Regions from separate parts of the Homo sapiens genome. Here all the other regions are linked to region 3. Evidence: promoter capture Hi-C in 16 types of primary human blood cells and fetal thymus (Javierre and others, 2016). All regions are on one chromosome and are shown on one strand. The core of a region is centred on a gene start or on the middle of the fragment in contact, and the rest is flanking DNA. Distances in the headings are between cores, read along the strand shown. Region 1 overlaps LINC02730 (long intergenic non-protein coding RNA 2730). Region 2 overlaps JAM3 (junctional adhesion molecule 3). Region 3 holds the start of GLB1L3 (galactosidase beta 1 like 3).

Region 1 (4,644 bases), core at 1,507-4,006, 250 kb before region 3:
GTTGCTCCCATCCCAGGTCTAGTCCCGGCTCTGCTAACATTTCACAAACACTATCTCTTTGAGTCCCCATGAAGTAGGTAGTTTTGTCCTCATTGTACAGACTTGGAGAGGTTGAGCCGCTTGCCAGAGCTGGGGAGTGCCTACTTGGGGCTGAAATCTAGGTCCCCTTAACTAGAAAGCCTTAGCTTAGTATCTTGCAGTGGAGGAGCTCCTGACCCCCACTTCTGATGGGGTGCATCGGAAGTGCTTTGAGTGGGGCTGGGCGCAGTTACTCACACCTGTAATCTCAGCACTTTGGGACGCCGAGGCAGGGGGGTCCCTGAGGTCAGGGGTTCGAGACCAGCCTGGCCAACATGGCAAAATCCCGTCTCTACTAAAAATACAAAAATTAGCTGGGCGTGGTGGTGCACGCCTCTAGTCCTAGCTACTCAGGAGGCTAAGGCATGAGAATTGCTTGAACCTGGGAGGCAGAAGTTGCAGTGAACCGAGATTGCACCACTGCACTCCAGCCTGGGCTACAGAGCGAGTCTTCGTCTCAAAAAAATAAATAAATAAAATAAGTGCTTCGCGTGTCCAGGGCCCCGACTCCGAGGGAAGACCCTCAACCTCTTCACATTACCACTGGACCATTAAAGGGTTAAAACATCTTTGATCTGGAGCCTCAGCTGCTCATCCTTCTGTTTTAAGGGCCTCTGAATCATTAGCCTTTCCAAGCAGCCTCCCTCTGCCGCCTGAGGCAGGTGAAGTGGGAGAGGGGAGCGGCCCGCCTGGGTCCTGAGTCAGCGCTGACTCCCCACGCTGTCCTCCACAGATTAATCACCTCCAATTACAGCTTCTGACTGGGCACGAGTCATTCCCAGCGGCGCCTCCTCGGGCCGACCCTCGCCCCCCTGCAAACAGGCTGCCTATCCGTCCAACATGCTTGCTGTACTTCCCAGAGCCCCAAAAAGGTACCCCGGCAGCAAATGACTCAAGGATGAGGACCCACCCTCTTCCCCCTCACCATCTGCTCTCAGCAACATGAGTCTTCTGGGGGCAAAAAGAAAAGAGGACATGAAACTCCTCCCTTCCAGCAGCCTACAGAGGCCTGTGCACCCTTCCATTAGCAGGTTGGATAATTCTTCGTGGTGTTTCTCCTCAGCAGTGACTAATAAAGCTTGTTCTCATTTCCACTAATCACACATCCTCATAGAGAAGGGTGACACACACTTGGCGTGGCTCTGTGACACCCCTTGGAAAGTGTTCCATGGCCCACCCAGCCTCTTTTCCTCGAGCCCCGCTCTGGCCTCCCTCACACCTGCCTCCCTTCTGCCCCTGCCAATGAAGCCGGGGCCCAGCTGCCTCGGTGGAATTCCTAAGCATCCTGCTCTTGGCTGCTGACCCGGGCACATGGGCACCCAAGGGCATTATGCCATCTCCCTCCTCAGCGGGTATCACACTGGGCTCCCTGCCCTGAGCTGCCAGCCAAGGGAAGGGCACACAGCCCCGTGGGGCACGAGCCGGGCCTCAGTGCCAGGGTACTGAGTGCATTGCTGTAGTATATGGCACAGTTTACCAAGAACTTTCCCGATTCTTGGGGCACGAGCCGGGCCTCAGTGCCAGGGCACTGAGTGCATTGCTGTAGTATATGGCACAGTTTACCAAGAACTTTCCCGACGTTGTTTCATTTGATCTTTACGTAATCAATAGTGCTCACTATACAATCATCCTCTATAGAACATGGTGTTCCCTAGAGGTAAGAAAGCTGAGGCCTGAAACATGCACGTAGCCCACCCACACTCAATTAGTAAGTGGCAATGCGTGACTATTATGCCATAACCCAGCTCTGGCATTAGGGTCAGAAGCCCTCCCCCACAAAAGTCCTCTCTGTATGAGCTTTAGAATTAGGCAGACTCATGGCTGAATGCTATTCTAATTCCACTTTTTATCTAGTGGTAGATACTGTCCTATGCACTTCGCAAACCGTTTCAACTCATTTAACTCCCACCACTGTCCTCTGCGGCGGGAGTTATCAGGATCCTTAATTTGCAGCTTTGAGAGTAGAGGCCGGGGTCCCCTAGCTCATAAGGGCTGCAGCTCTCATCTGACTCTGGCCCAGGGCCGGACTCTTCACCACTCCTCTAAGCTACCTGGGGCTTCTCCAACTTCTAACGGCACGAACTTGGACAAGTCACGGAAGTTTTCTTATCATTCCAATACTCTCATCTTTTCAATGGCAGGGGTGAGACCACCCTCCCCACAGTGCTGTGTGGGGGTTAGATGGGATCGTGAGAACAGAGTATATAAAACACTGAGCTCTGGCCCAGCATGGAGGGAGCACAAGCTAATAGCACACTCGGCCCCCAGGACAAAGCTGCAAGAGGACAGGGGCTGCGAAGGATGGACCGTGTTAGGAGGAAGATTCCCCGTCCCCTAGTCCTAGAGGTCCACAGCAAGGCAGATGCTAGATCCTGGGGACTCTTGGTTGGGGCAGGCACAGGGAAGCACGCCACCTGCCCCACTCCCCGCCCTGTGTCGTATTCATTCCTCTTTGTAAGCATATCTCTCAAATCAACCTGGCCAACCAGTCCCTGAGATCATTCTGATTCTAAAAAGCAAAATGTCTCTAATTAAGGTTCTTACCTATTGGGGACCTTAGTCATCTTTGAAAAATCTGATAAAAACTATAAACCATTGTTTCAGAAAAATTCACATATACCCAGGGACACAGGCATGCTCTTACAAGTTGAGGTGATCACCAGATCACAAAGGGGTCCGTTGGAGCCTAAGTTTATGAGCCTCTTTTCTGTATAATTAGGAAACATCCTTATAATCTTATCACTAGTATCATGGGGAAAATTGCCAAGTCTTTCCTTTCCTTTTCCTCTCCAACTTCATACCTAGGCTCTGCCCTCCCACACACTCCTACACCAGCCCCCGATCCTGGCTTCCCTCACACTGCCCCGGGCCAGGGCCGAAGCTGCAGCGGTGGTGGCAACAGCATCAGCTGTTGCTAAGGAAGCTGAGAATGCAGGGTGGGGGCCGGAGAGTGGGCAGCAACCCAGCAGGGCAGCACCCCCCATGCATGTCTGAGCACCTTGGGCCCTGGAAACGGTGTTCCCAGCTGGCTGCCATGGCAACAGCAGGCTTCGGAGCCATTCATCTCGGTCTGGACAGCTTCCCCTACTCGCACTAGCGCTTTGTCTCCCTAAGTGGCTAACTGAGGTGTGAAAGGGTCTGTGGTGAGTGGACAAAGGAGCACAAAGGGCAAAAGGTGGGTCATGCGCCCCACACTGGGCAGGCACCCTGGGGGGTCTGAGAGGCCAGGGAGGGGGTCTGGGCCAGCTCCCTAACAGAGGGCCTGGCTGCTGGAGAAGCAGCTCAGAACACAGAGATGGCCATGCCTCTCCCAAAGACCTCTGCCTGTGAGCCTCAGCTACTTGCCCAAGAGCCATCCTAGAAAGGAGAAGTACTGGTTACATCCCAGGTAAGCCAGCAGCCAGGTGACACTTGGTCACTTCTAGATGTGGTAACTAACTGGATTTTTCCTCAGGCTGATAGGGTGCGTAAAAAGGTGAGAGACTGGGCACGAATGGGAGGGTTCCTAAGGGTGAGAGATTGGGAGGGAATGACTCCTGGGCCTAATTTAAACAAAGCTAAAAGACAGATGAAGTCAGAGGTGAATGAAGCAGTTAAGGTCTTGCCTTCAGCTCAAGACCACCCATCTGGTTGTAGGTACTGTTTAGCACTATTGCCATCTGAAAGGACTGTCCTTGGAAGCACTGTCCGTGGGACCATTTATTGAGTGGAGATTAAACATTGTACCTATCTCAACGTCATCTTCAAAGTGAGATTAAGTACCTGAGTGAAGTATTGTCCTCTTTTCACAGATGAGGAAATGGAGGCTTCAAGGTCAAACCCCTTGCCCAGAGACATGCAGCAGAAAGTGATGAAGCTGAGATTTGAACTTGCACCTGTCTGCCTGCAAATCCCATCTCTTCCTGCTGTGCCAGAGACAGCAGAAGGGCCCACGGCTGTGTAGATGTGGCCTATTAGCCTCTCAAGTCTAGAGCAAGCCCCTCAGTGTGGGGCCCCTCCCTAGCCGCACTTCCTGCCACACCTGTCCTTCAAGCAGCCGCCTTTCTTTAGAACCCCACGTCTACTGTGGTGATCACTCTGCATAGCTGCTTTAGAAACATATGAAGATAACAGAAGGATCTCATCTGCAACCCAGAGCTCTCTGTGCCTGGTGGTGACTCCCAAGAAGCTCCCATAAGGAAGAGGTCCCTCAAAGAACACACTGAACACAGTGGACCCTCTGCTGCCAAAACAGGCAGGGAAGCATCTCCTGGAGCCTGCTTGGTCAGCTCTGCTCTCAGAAGCTTGGAGGGCAAACGGGGGTGACTGGACCCAGCTGGAATAATGGAAAGAATGGGAACTAGCACTTAGAAGCACCTACTGTGTTCCAGAAATTCTGGTGCATTTATCTGTGTAGCCTTCAAAATAGCTCTGTTGGGTTGATAGTATTTTTGCCCCATGTTATGGTATAAGAAACTGAGTTCAGAGAGGTTAGGTAACTTGAATCAGGCCATAAAGCACTTAAGCCCAAACTTAACTGGCTCCAACATCTCCATCATTTCTATTCTATCCTCCGACCTCCCCGAC
Region 2 (4,876 bases), core at 1,740-4,239, 160 kb before region 3:
GTCACATGGCTACTAATTGGTACCGGTGGAGGAGATCAACTCAAGTAGCAACTCCAGAGTACATGCTCTTACTCGTTTTGCCTTGCCCAAACTTAAGATAGCTGCCTTCATGTCGTGTAAGAGGATATGACCTCCAATATGAATGGAGAGGGGTAGAGCATGAAATAGAGCATGAAAATCTTGTCTCATTTGAGGTCTGAAGCCACAGACCAAAGAGAAAGTTATATATGCTGTCTTCTGTGTGATGGGCTAGGGCCTGGAGTGGGCTCCAAGTAATACCCAGCAAGGTCATCAACAGAGCACTCCAGTCCAGTGCACTCTGGGAGAGGGATCACTTGAACCCAAGGGCTAGCATCTCGGTCACTTGAATCTTCAGTACCTAGCATGGTAACTGGCATATATTAAGGGATCATAAATGTTTTACTCAATGAATTTCAACAAATGAATCTTTTACAGAGTAGTAATTGACAATGTGGGTTCTGGGACTGGACTGTCTGGTTTTTTTTTTTTTTAATACTTTAAGGGTACATGTGCACAACGTGCAGGTTTGTTACATATGTATACATGTGCTGTGTTGGTGTGCTGCACCCATTAACTCGTCATTTACATTAGGTATATCTCCTAATGCTAACCCTCCCCGCTTCCCCTACCCCACGACAGGCCCTGGTGTGTGATGTTCCCCTTCCTGTGTCCAAGTGTTCTCATTGTTCAATTCCCACCTCTGAGTGAGAACACGCGGTGTTTGGTTTTTTGTCCTTGTGATAGTTTGCTGAGAATGATGGTTTCCAGCTTCATCCATATCCCAACAAAGGACATGAACTCATCATCTTTTATGGCTGCATAGTATTCCATGGTGTATATGTGCCACATTTTCTTAATCCAGTCTATCATTAATGGACATTTGGGTTGGTTCCAAGTCTTTGCTATTGTGAATAGTGCCGCAATAAACATCCGTGTGCATGTGTCTTTATAGCAGCATGATTTATAATCCTTTGGGTATATACCCAGTAATGGGATGGCTGGGTCAAAAGGTATTTCTAGTTCTAGATCCCTGAGGAATCGCCACACTGTCTTCCACAACGGTTGAACTAGTTTACAGTCCCACCAACAGTGTAAAAGTGTTCCTGTTTCTCCACATCCTCTCCAGCACCTGTTGTTTCCTGACTTTTTAATGATCGCAATTCTAACTGGTGTGAGATGGTATCTCATTGTGGTTTTGATGTGCATTTGTCTGATGGCCAGTGATGATGAGCATTTCTTCATGTGTCTTTTGGCTGCATAAATGTCTTCTTTTCAGAAGTGTCTGTTCATATCCTTTGCCCACTTGTTGATGGGTTTGTTTGTTTTTTTCTTGTAAATTTGTTTGAGTTCATTGTAGATTCTGGATATTAGCCCTTTGTCAGATGAGTAGGTTGCAAAAATTTTCTCCCATTCTGTAGGTTGCCTGTTCACTGTGATGGTAGTTTCTTTTGCTGTGCAGAAGCTCTTTAGTTTTAATTAGATCCCATTTGTCAATTTTGGCTTTTGTTGCTATTGCTTTTGATGTTTTAGACATGAAGTCCTTGCCCATGCCTATGTCCTGAATGGTTTTCTTCTAGGGTTTTTATGGTTTTAGGTCTAACATTTAAGTCTTTAATCCATCTTGAATTAATTTTTGTATAAGGTGTGAGGAACGGATCCAGTTTCAGCTTTCTACATATGGCTAGCCAGTTTTCCCAGCACCATTTATTAAATAGGGAATCCTTTCCCCATTTCTTGTTTTTGTCAGGTTTGTCAAAGATCAGATGGTTGTAGATGTGTGGTATTATTTCTGAGGGCTCTGTTGTGTTCCATTGGTCTCTATCTCTCTTTTGGTACCAGGACCAAGCTAAAACACTTTTTAATTTCCCTTTTGATTCTTCTTTGACTTACAGATTATTGAGAAATGTGTTAGTTTCCAAACATTAGGATTTTTCAGATGCCTTTCTGTACTGATCTCTATTTTAATTTCACTGTGGTCAGAAAACAAACTTTGTATGACTTGAATCTTTTAAAACGTATTGTGATTTGTTTTATGGCTCGGAATATGGTCTACCTTGGTAAATGTCCCATTTGCACTTGTCAAAAATATGTATTCTGCTGTCTTTGGGTTAGGTGTTCTATAAATGTGAAGTAGGTCAAGTTAGTCGATAGAATTTTTAAAAATCAGCATTCTTACTGATTTTCTGTCCACTTGTTCTGCTATTGAGAGTAGTGTTGAAATCTCGAACAAAGAATCCTATGGATTTGTTTATTTCTCCTTGCAGTTCTTTTCAGTTTTTGCATAATATATTTTGAAGCTCTGTTACTAGGTACATACATGTTTAGAATTTTTATGTTCTTTTGATGAATTGACCTCTTTATCGATTTTTAAATTTATTGTTATGAAATGACTTCCTTTATCATTATGAACTAACCTTTTTTATCCCTGGTAATATTCTTTGCTCTGAAATATACTTTGATACTAATATAGCCACTCCACTTTTCTTTTGGCTAGTGTTAACTTAGTATATCTTTTTTCATCCTTTTATTTTGAAGCTTTGTATCTTTATATTTAAAGTTGCCTTGCTTTTTTAGGAGAAAATCTAATCTAACAATATATGCCATTTAATTGGGATGTTTAGACTATTTACATTGCGTTTACTGATATAGTTAGGTTTAAGTCTTTTCTCTTGCATTTGTTTTCCTTTGTTTCATCTGTTCTTTGTTCTTTTGTTCTTTTTATGCCTTCTTTTCTATTGGGTAACTTTGTTTGGTCTTTTTTGTTGGTTTATTAGCTATAACTTATGACCTTGATATATTTAAAGAGTAGTGGTTAGGTGTTTTGCAGAAAGTCTTCAATTTGAGTTTATCTGATGTTTTCTCATGATTAGACTTGGTTTATAGATTGGGGGAGGGGGTCAGGTGCTGTGCGGCTAATGCCTGTAATCCCAGCACTTTTGGAGAATGAGGTGGGAAGATTACTTGAGCCCAGGAGTTTGAGACCAGCCTGGGTAACATGTGAGATCCTGTCTCTTAAAAAAAAAAATTAGCAAGGCATAGTGGCACACACCTGTAGTCCCAGCTACTCAGAAAGCCAAGGTGGGAAGATGGTTTGAGTCCAGGAGTTTGAGGCTGCAGTAAGCCATGATTGCGCCACTACACTCAAGCCTGGGTGACAGAATGAGACCATGTCTCAAAATAAATAAATAAAAAATTGGAGGAGGGGATAGATACCATAAAAGTGCAGTGCCCTTCTCATCATATCAAAGGGTATATAATATCATCATGACATGTTGCTGGTATTGCTACCCTGATCACTAGGTTTAGGTGGTGTCTACAAGGTTTCTCCACTGTAAAGTTAGTATGTTTCTTTTTCCCTTTCTATTTTTTAGGAGTTCAGCCCACACTCAAGGAGATGGAAATTAAGCTTCACTTCCTGGAGGGAGGAGAATCAGATAATTTGTGGATGTATGCTAAAATTACCATAATAATTAATAAATATTTCGGTGGATAAGATGTTATGAGGCTATTCAAGTATTCTGATAAAGTTTTTTCATGAATATTGGCAGTCATTAGTGGATGTTCCCTATAGCAGTTATTACTATGGTGTTCTAATGATTATTTCCTATTTCCCTTATTCTTTCTACATTTGTTCATTGTAATTCTCCTGTAAAGAAAATTTGGCCTCTGTCTCTCATTTATTTGCTTATTCATCATTTATGCATATTAGTGTGGATTTATGGGTATTGTATTCTTTGTATTATAATCCAATAGTATCATAATTTTTTTTCTTAAAATCTTCCAGCTTTGGCCACTGGAAGCTCTTTCAGGTGGCTGGGATTTTTTGTCGTTGTTTGTTTTTTAGCACTTTCTTGCTCTCTGACACTACAGGGTGCTCCAGGCTTATCTTGTATTTTCCCTGTCCTAGAATCAGCCATTTTTCAGGGAGCCCTGATTCTTTTTACTAGAGAATGGTATATGGGAAACTAGACCTGGGTACTAGAAATGCTTTTGGTTATCAGGTGTCACTGCTTCTAGGCTCTCGGTGAACAGGGCTAGGAGATACATGTATTTATATCCACGTATACACACATATCTATACTATTTCTCTATTTGTATCTATGTTAAAATAAACATTAGTTTATAGTGGTATGTCTGACTCAAATTCAGCACTACAGGGTTAATTCTAGCATTTTCCCCTTGCATATTCATTCTTTGATGTGAGAAACTTGGCTGTCATTACCTACAACGTATTTATAGTTATTTGTTTAACCAAGACAAGGATATCTGCTCACACCATTTCTACTCAACACCATATTGGAGGTTCTAGCCAATACAACCAGGCATGAAAAAGAAACTTAAAAAAAAAACAATCCACGGCCAGGCACAGTGGCTCATGCCTGTAATCCCAGCACTTTGGGAGGCTGAGGTGGGTGGATCATCTGAGGTCAGGAGTTTGAGACCAGCCTGGCTGAGATGGTGAAACCCTGTCTCTACTAAAAGTACAAAAAATAAAATAAAATAAAATAACCGGGGATGGTGGTGGGCACCTGTAATCCCAGCTACTCAGGAGGCTGAGGCAGAAGAATTGCTTGAACCCGGGAGGCGGAGGTTGCACTGAGCTGAGATCACACCATTGCACTCCAGCCTGGGCGACAAGAGCAAAAAACTCCATCTCAAAAAAAGAAAAACAATCCAAATTGGCGGGGAAGAAGTAAAGCTGTCTTGATGTCTTCCCTTATTAGAGAGAAATATTTGGTAGTTTGCAGTCTGTTCTACCTCAGGAGAGACTGCAGTAAAACTGATGTGAACATCTCAGAATTCAACTGTTTTGTAAATACCACCACCCCTTCCACTTTCCTTCAGCATCCCAGTT
Region 3 (4,799 bases), core at 736-3,235:
ACAGAAATCTGGGGGAACTTTCACTCTCCAGGGCTCCTTCATAGAGGTTCTCAAATACTCCATCAGCAGAGGGGAGCCCCAGATGGCAAAAGGACACAGGATATGTCATCTTTCAAATGAACCAATAATCCATTATTTGATTCTTCTACCTTTGTCAAAATTCCTCCAGCAACGCCTGCAGAAAATCACAATTCTTGATACATAGCTTGTTCCAATAAAGCACCACAGCATTTCTAGTGACTGCAGGCCCAGCTGTCAAACTCTTTCAACTTGATAGAGAATATGTACACAAAACCTATAGCTGTCATCATACTTAATAGTGAAAAACAGAATGTTTTCCAGCTGACACTGGGGACAAGGTAACAGTGTCAGTTCCTGCCGCTCTTATTCAACACAGAAATTTTAGTCATCATACTAAGACACACAAAAAAAGGAATAAAAAGCCACGCAGACTGGAAAGGTAGAAATAAAACTCTCCATATTTGCAGATGACATGATTATCTACATGGAAAATGCCAAGTAATACACAAATAACCTCTTAAAATTAATAGGTGAGTTTGCCAAGGTCACAGGATATGAGATCAACATGAGAAACACAATCACATTTCTGTATGCTAACAACAAACATGTAAAAACTGAAATAAAAATAATAACAGTTTAAATCTCTTGAGAGCAAAGGAAATATTTAAGTATAAACCTAACAAAACGTGATAGGATCTGATGTTGAAAAAATCACACAATTCTGATGAAAGAAGTGAAAAAAAAAAAACTATTTAAATAGACAGACATACCATGTTCGTGGGTTGGAAGATTCAACATAATAAGGATACAATTCTCAATTTGATCCATAGGTTGATTGCAATTCCTCTCGAAATACCAACATGGCTTTTTGTAGAAACAGACAAGTTTATTCTAAATTTTATGTGGGAAGGCACAAGCCCTAGAATACTTTAAACTTGACAAAGAAGAATAAAGTGTGTGGCTGTAAAACCAAACTGTAAAAAATTAACAGTTCATTGCTTGCAGTCGAAAAAATGAGGAAAAGATGGACGATCTAGGAAACTTTCAGGGAGCTAAGGTGTCGGAGAGCAAAGTATCCTTGTAAGGAATGAGACAAGATAAACTCCCTCCCCCACACACAGTATTTTCAGAGAACTACATTCTTGGTTTCAACCTGATGTCATAGGCTGTGTTCTTTGCAACGGAAGAAGCAAAGACTTCAAAGGGAGAAATCGGAAGATTTCTTTTTTCATCGTAGGGACTTCACATCAGCGTTTCCAAAACCGAGTCCATCGCCTTTTCCCTCTGCGCAGCCTCTATCCCTTCCTGTGTTTCGCATCTCAATAAACGTCCCCGCCAAGTGACTTCAGCCTGAAACATGCGGCCTCCCGGACTCCTCTCTGTGTCACCGACCTCTTGCGCTCAGTTCTCCGGAGCTGCCGGTTTAACCTCGCAAGTCTTCCCGGAACCCGTGCCCTCCTCCTGGGCAGCGTTACCACCACGAGCGCCTACCTGAGAGGACGCCTGTTCTCATCCAGCCTCCACCCTGCAGCCGAGCAATCTCCGTAAAACGAACACCTGGCTTAGTTTCTGCTGGAAACCGTTGAATAGTCCCCACTGTCTTCTGGAAGGGTCTGGGCAGCTCGGCGTGGCGTCCACGGCCCCACCAGGCCTCTGCCTCCTGCAGGTCCCGCTACTTCGTCACCAAAGCGCCCGCCGCGCTCGCATCTGCTGTGAGGCTGTGCTCGGGCCGCTCCCGCCGAGGGAACGGCCCTCCCAAGGCTCTGCGCCCCAATTCTCGCTCGTTTGCCAAGAGGTAGCCGTGTCGGGGAGCTAGAGTTCTCCGGGGACTCTCTCCTGCCCCTCGTGGCCCTCTGTGGAACCCTCGTTTTAGGATCTGCACGCCGTTTCCAGTCGCGCGCGCGGCACGGAGACCGCCCGCTGTGCCCCGCGCTGCGCTCTCTCCGCCCCTCTCCCGCGCAGGCCTCCCTGTGCCAGCCGGCTGTCGACCCAGGTTAGGAAGCCCGAGGTCGGGGCGTTACCCCAAGGGCCCTCCCGCTTCCCCTCCGAGGGCAGAGAGGCGTCCGCGCCCGGACGCACTGCGGGAACACCTGGAGCGCCGGCGGAGCTCGGCTGTCCCCGCGGGAGGGAGCCCGACGCGCATCCTTGGGACCCGGACCCGGCGCCCGCGCCTCGGGACGGATTTCTGCCTCGGCTGCAGGCGCAGCGCGCAGACCTGAGCCTGCCCCGCGGAACCGGGGCTCGAGTCCCGGCCCGAGCGCGGCGTCGGGGCCAGCGGAGAGGGGCGGAAGCCGCAAGGGACCCTCGGCGCCTCGGCCTGGCCGCGATGAAGTCCCCGCCCCTCCTCAGGTGACGGATCGCCGCTGCCGTCCCGGGCTGCCCACCACCCCGGCGCGTGCCCGGGAGCCTCCACCCTCCCCGGGTTCTGTGGCCGGCCACGCGCCCCAGGCACGCGCCGCGCCGGGCCGCGCCACCAAGCCCGCTGTCCCCAGCTTTCCTCGGCAGATCCCCTGGCTACCCCCACCCTGCGGAGGGGCCGTTCACCAGATGCCAGAAAATCAGGGTGGGGCACGCAGGCCAGGGGCTCCAGCGGCTGGGCACCGTGTCCTTCCCGAACCTGGTGCTGGAAGTGCGCCCGCCTCCGCCTCTCCCAGGCACCCACCGGCACTGCCCAGCCCTGTCTGGAGGGTCTAGGACTGAACGTCTGTCCCCGGCCTTCATCCTGGCTGCAGAGGACTGGCCGGGTGATGCCGCGCTGTCCTGGCCCTGGGCCCGCCTGGAAGACCCGCCTGTGTCGCGGGCCCCCTCCCTGGCTCTGGCCTCTAAAGCGCCCCCGGCACAGCTTCCCGGCCCTTGCAGCCCGGTGGGGCCGGAACCTTCCCCTTGTCACTGTTGTCCTTTCTCCTTTCAGCCCGTGTCTCTCCTGGAAGAGAATGGCGGGCATCTTTTTCCTGCCATTTATCTCATCAGGTTTTGCTCCTCGGTTTAAGCAGGAAGAGAACTTCATGCTTGGAAGAGCGCATCCGTCCCAGCCTAGGTTTGCTTGAGAGCTACATCCCTGGGGAGGGAGGGGAGCGATCTCTCCTTTCTTGGAGAAAATAGTATCGCGAATATGCACAGAACACGTCCTACTAACATATGCACAGAACACGTCCTACTAACATATGCACAGAACACGTCCTACTAACAAAAACTTCTTTTCGCTAGGGTTTCAGCCGTGCCTCCGAGCCCTCTCCCGAATCCTCTCTCCCTTTCCACTTTCTTTCCCTCGCCCGCCCCCTCCAGGTTTAATTGGTCTCATCTGACCCCTCTGGAGCTGAAGAATCGATCTGTGGGACTTGGAACTGAAAGCACAGGTCGGGGTAAGCCCCACTTCACACTGGAGGGCCACAAGTTCCTGATCTTCGGGGGCTCCATCCACTATTTCCGGGTGCCCAGGGAGTACTGGAGGGACCGCCTGCTGAAGCTGAAGGCCTGTGGCTTCAATACTGTCACCACGTGAGTGCCGGCCCCTCACCTCCAGGATCTCGTTACCCTACAAGTGCATCCTGGCCGGGAACCTGAGCCTCCGATTTTGGGGGCCCAGCGTGAGGACTTACCTTCCGCACAGTCGTTTCCAGCACATACATTTAATGCTTAAGCGTCCAGCTGTCACTTAGTCTCATGCTGAGTTTGCTCTGTGATCAAAGACTTGGATAGGGGTTAGTGGGAGAATCTCAAGGGAGGAGGTTATTTCCTCAGGATTCTGTCTGTCTAATGAAGGAACACCAGGCGCCCTTGGGAGCACTCAGTTTAATGACATAAGCTTAAGGCACACTTACAGATAAATATGTACTTACAGATACATGCATGTTTTTAAAACAAAAAAAAATTTTTTTTTTTGAGACACAGTTTGTTGTTCTGTTTGTTGCTCAGGCTGGAGTGCAGTGGCCCGATCTTAGCTCACGGCAGCTTCTACTTCTCTGGCTCAGGTGATCCTCCTGCCTCAGCCTCCTGAACAGCTGGGGCCACAGGTGCATGCCACCACACCAGGCTAATTTTTTGAATTGTTTGTAGAGATGGAGTTTCGCCATGTTGCCTGGGCTGGTCTCAAACTCCTGGACTCAAGCAGTTCACCCTTTAAAAGGGAACACCACGGTCGTCCTCATGCCTGTATACAACTGACCAGCCACCCTGTATGACCACAAAAAAGCAAAACTGCTCCAGAATCAGAGGCCCTGTCCTCCTGAGGGCCTGCCACCACCATTTTGTGGCAAGCTTACCATCACACTCACTGTAAAGGAGAAGATGCTTAGAGGGCCCTGTGCCTTATTGCAGAGCTGGTATTGAAGGGTGAATTTGAAGCTGAGAGGCAGTAAACTGGTTCATTTAAAATGCAAAGAATTTAATCAGAAATAATCGTTGAGTTTTATTGAGAGCTGCTACTGCATGTATTGGGGGGACAATATAGTTTTTCTTCACTGTTCTTTTGAATTGCTGAATTACAACGGCAATTTTTCTGATAGTCAAGCAGCCATGTGGTACTGGTATAAACTCTGCTTGGCTCTGAGATAGGCACACATTACATACACACAGATTGCTAGACTTTATTTGCTAGTGTTTTATTTCAAATGTGTTTATGATTATAAGCAAAACGGATTTAAAATTTTATTTTGTTAGTATTCTTGTCCAGTTTTGAATCAATCTTATAATAAGCTCATAAAGTGAGTAAATCTTCTTTTCTTACTTATTGGAAATATTTTGCACAAGAATTATCTTTACCCTGAAAGTTTCTTAAG

Evidence for each region. The method cuts DNA at HindIII sites, captures the fragments that hold promoters and counts their contacts. A CHiCAGO score of 5 or more calls a contact.
Region 1: a contact is called between a fragment that was not itself captured here and the fragment with the promoter of GLB1L3 in region 3, in 2 of 17 cell types (activated CD4 T cells and fetal thymus). The highest score is 6.6, in activated CD4 T cells.
Region 2: a fragment that was not itself captured here is called in contact with the fragment with the promoter of GLB1L3 in region 3 in 1 of 17 cell types (total B cells); the score reaches 5.8 in total B cells.

The regions. Positions count from the first base shown.
Region 1 is chr11:134,023,814-134,028,457 of GRCh38, forward strand. LINC02730 (long intergenic non-protein coding RNA 2730) reads left to right here. Exons shown (of 2, transcript NR_186708.1): 2 at 3,870-4,589. Among named protein-coding and RNA genes, the nearest start is that of LINC02731, 6.1 kb to the right of the region's middle. RefSeq lists enhancers at 323-1,125, 2,559-3,130, 3,131-3,701. The HindIII fragment of the contact is 3,205 bases long and covers 1,155-4,359 here.
Region 2 is chr11:134,112,702-134,117,577 of GRCh38, forward strand. All of the region lies in intron 1 of JAM3 (junctional adhesion molecule 3), which reads left to right. Among named protein-coding and RNA genes, the nearest start is that of SNORD153, 36 kb to the right of the region's middle. The HindIII fragment of the contact is 871 bases long and covers 2,555-3,425 here.
Region 3 is chr11:134,274,394-134,279,192 of GRCh38, forward strand. It overlaps GLB1L3 (galactosidase beta 1 like 3), which reads left to right and starts at 1,986. Exons shown (of 20, transcript NM_001080407.3): 1 at 1,986-2,370; 2 at 2,933-3,058; 3 at 3,307-3,519. The coding sequence starts at 2,348. RefSeq lists enhancers at 1,145-1,254, 1,315-1,444, 1,595-1,644 and a silencer at 2,095-2,164. The HindIII fragment of the contact is 7,995 bases long and covers 1-3,824 here.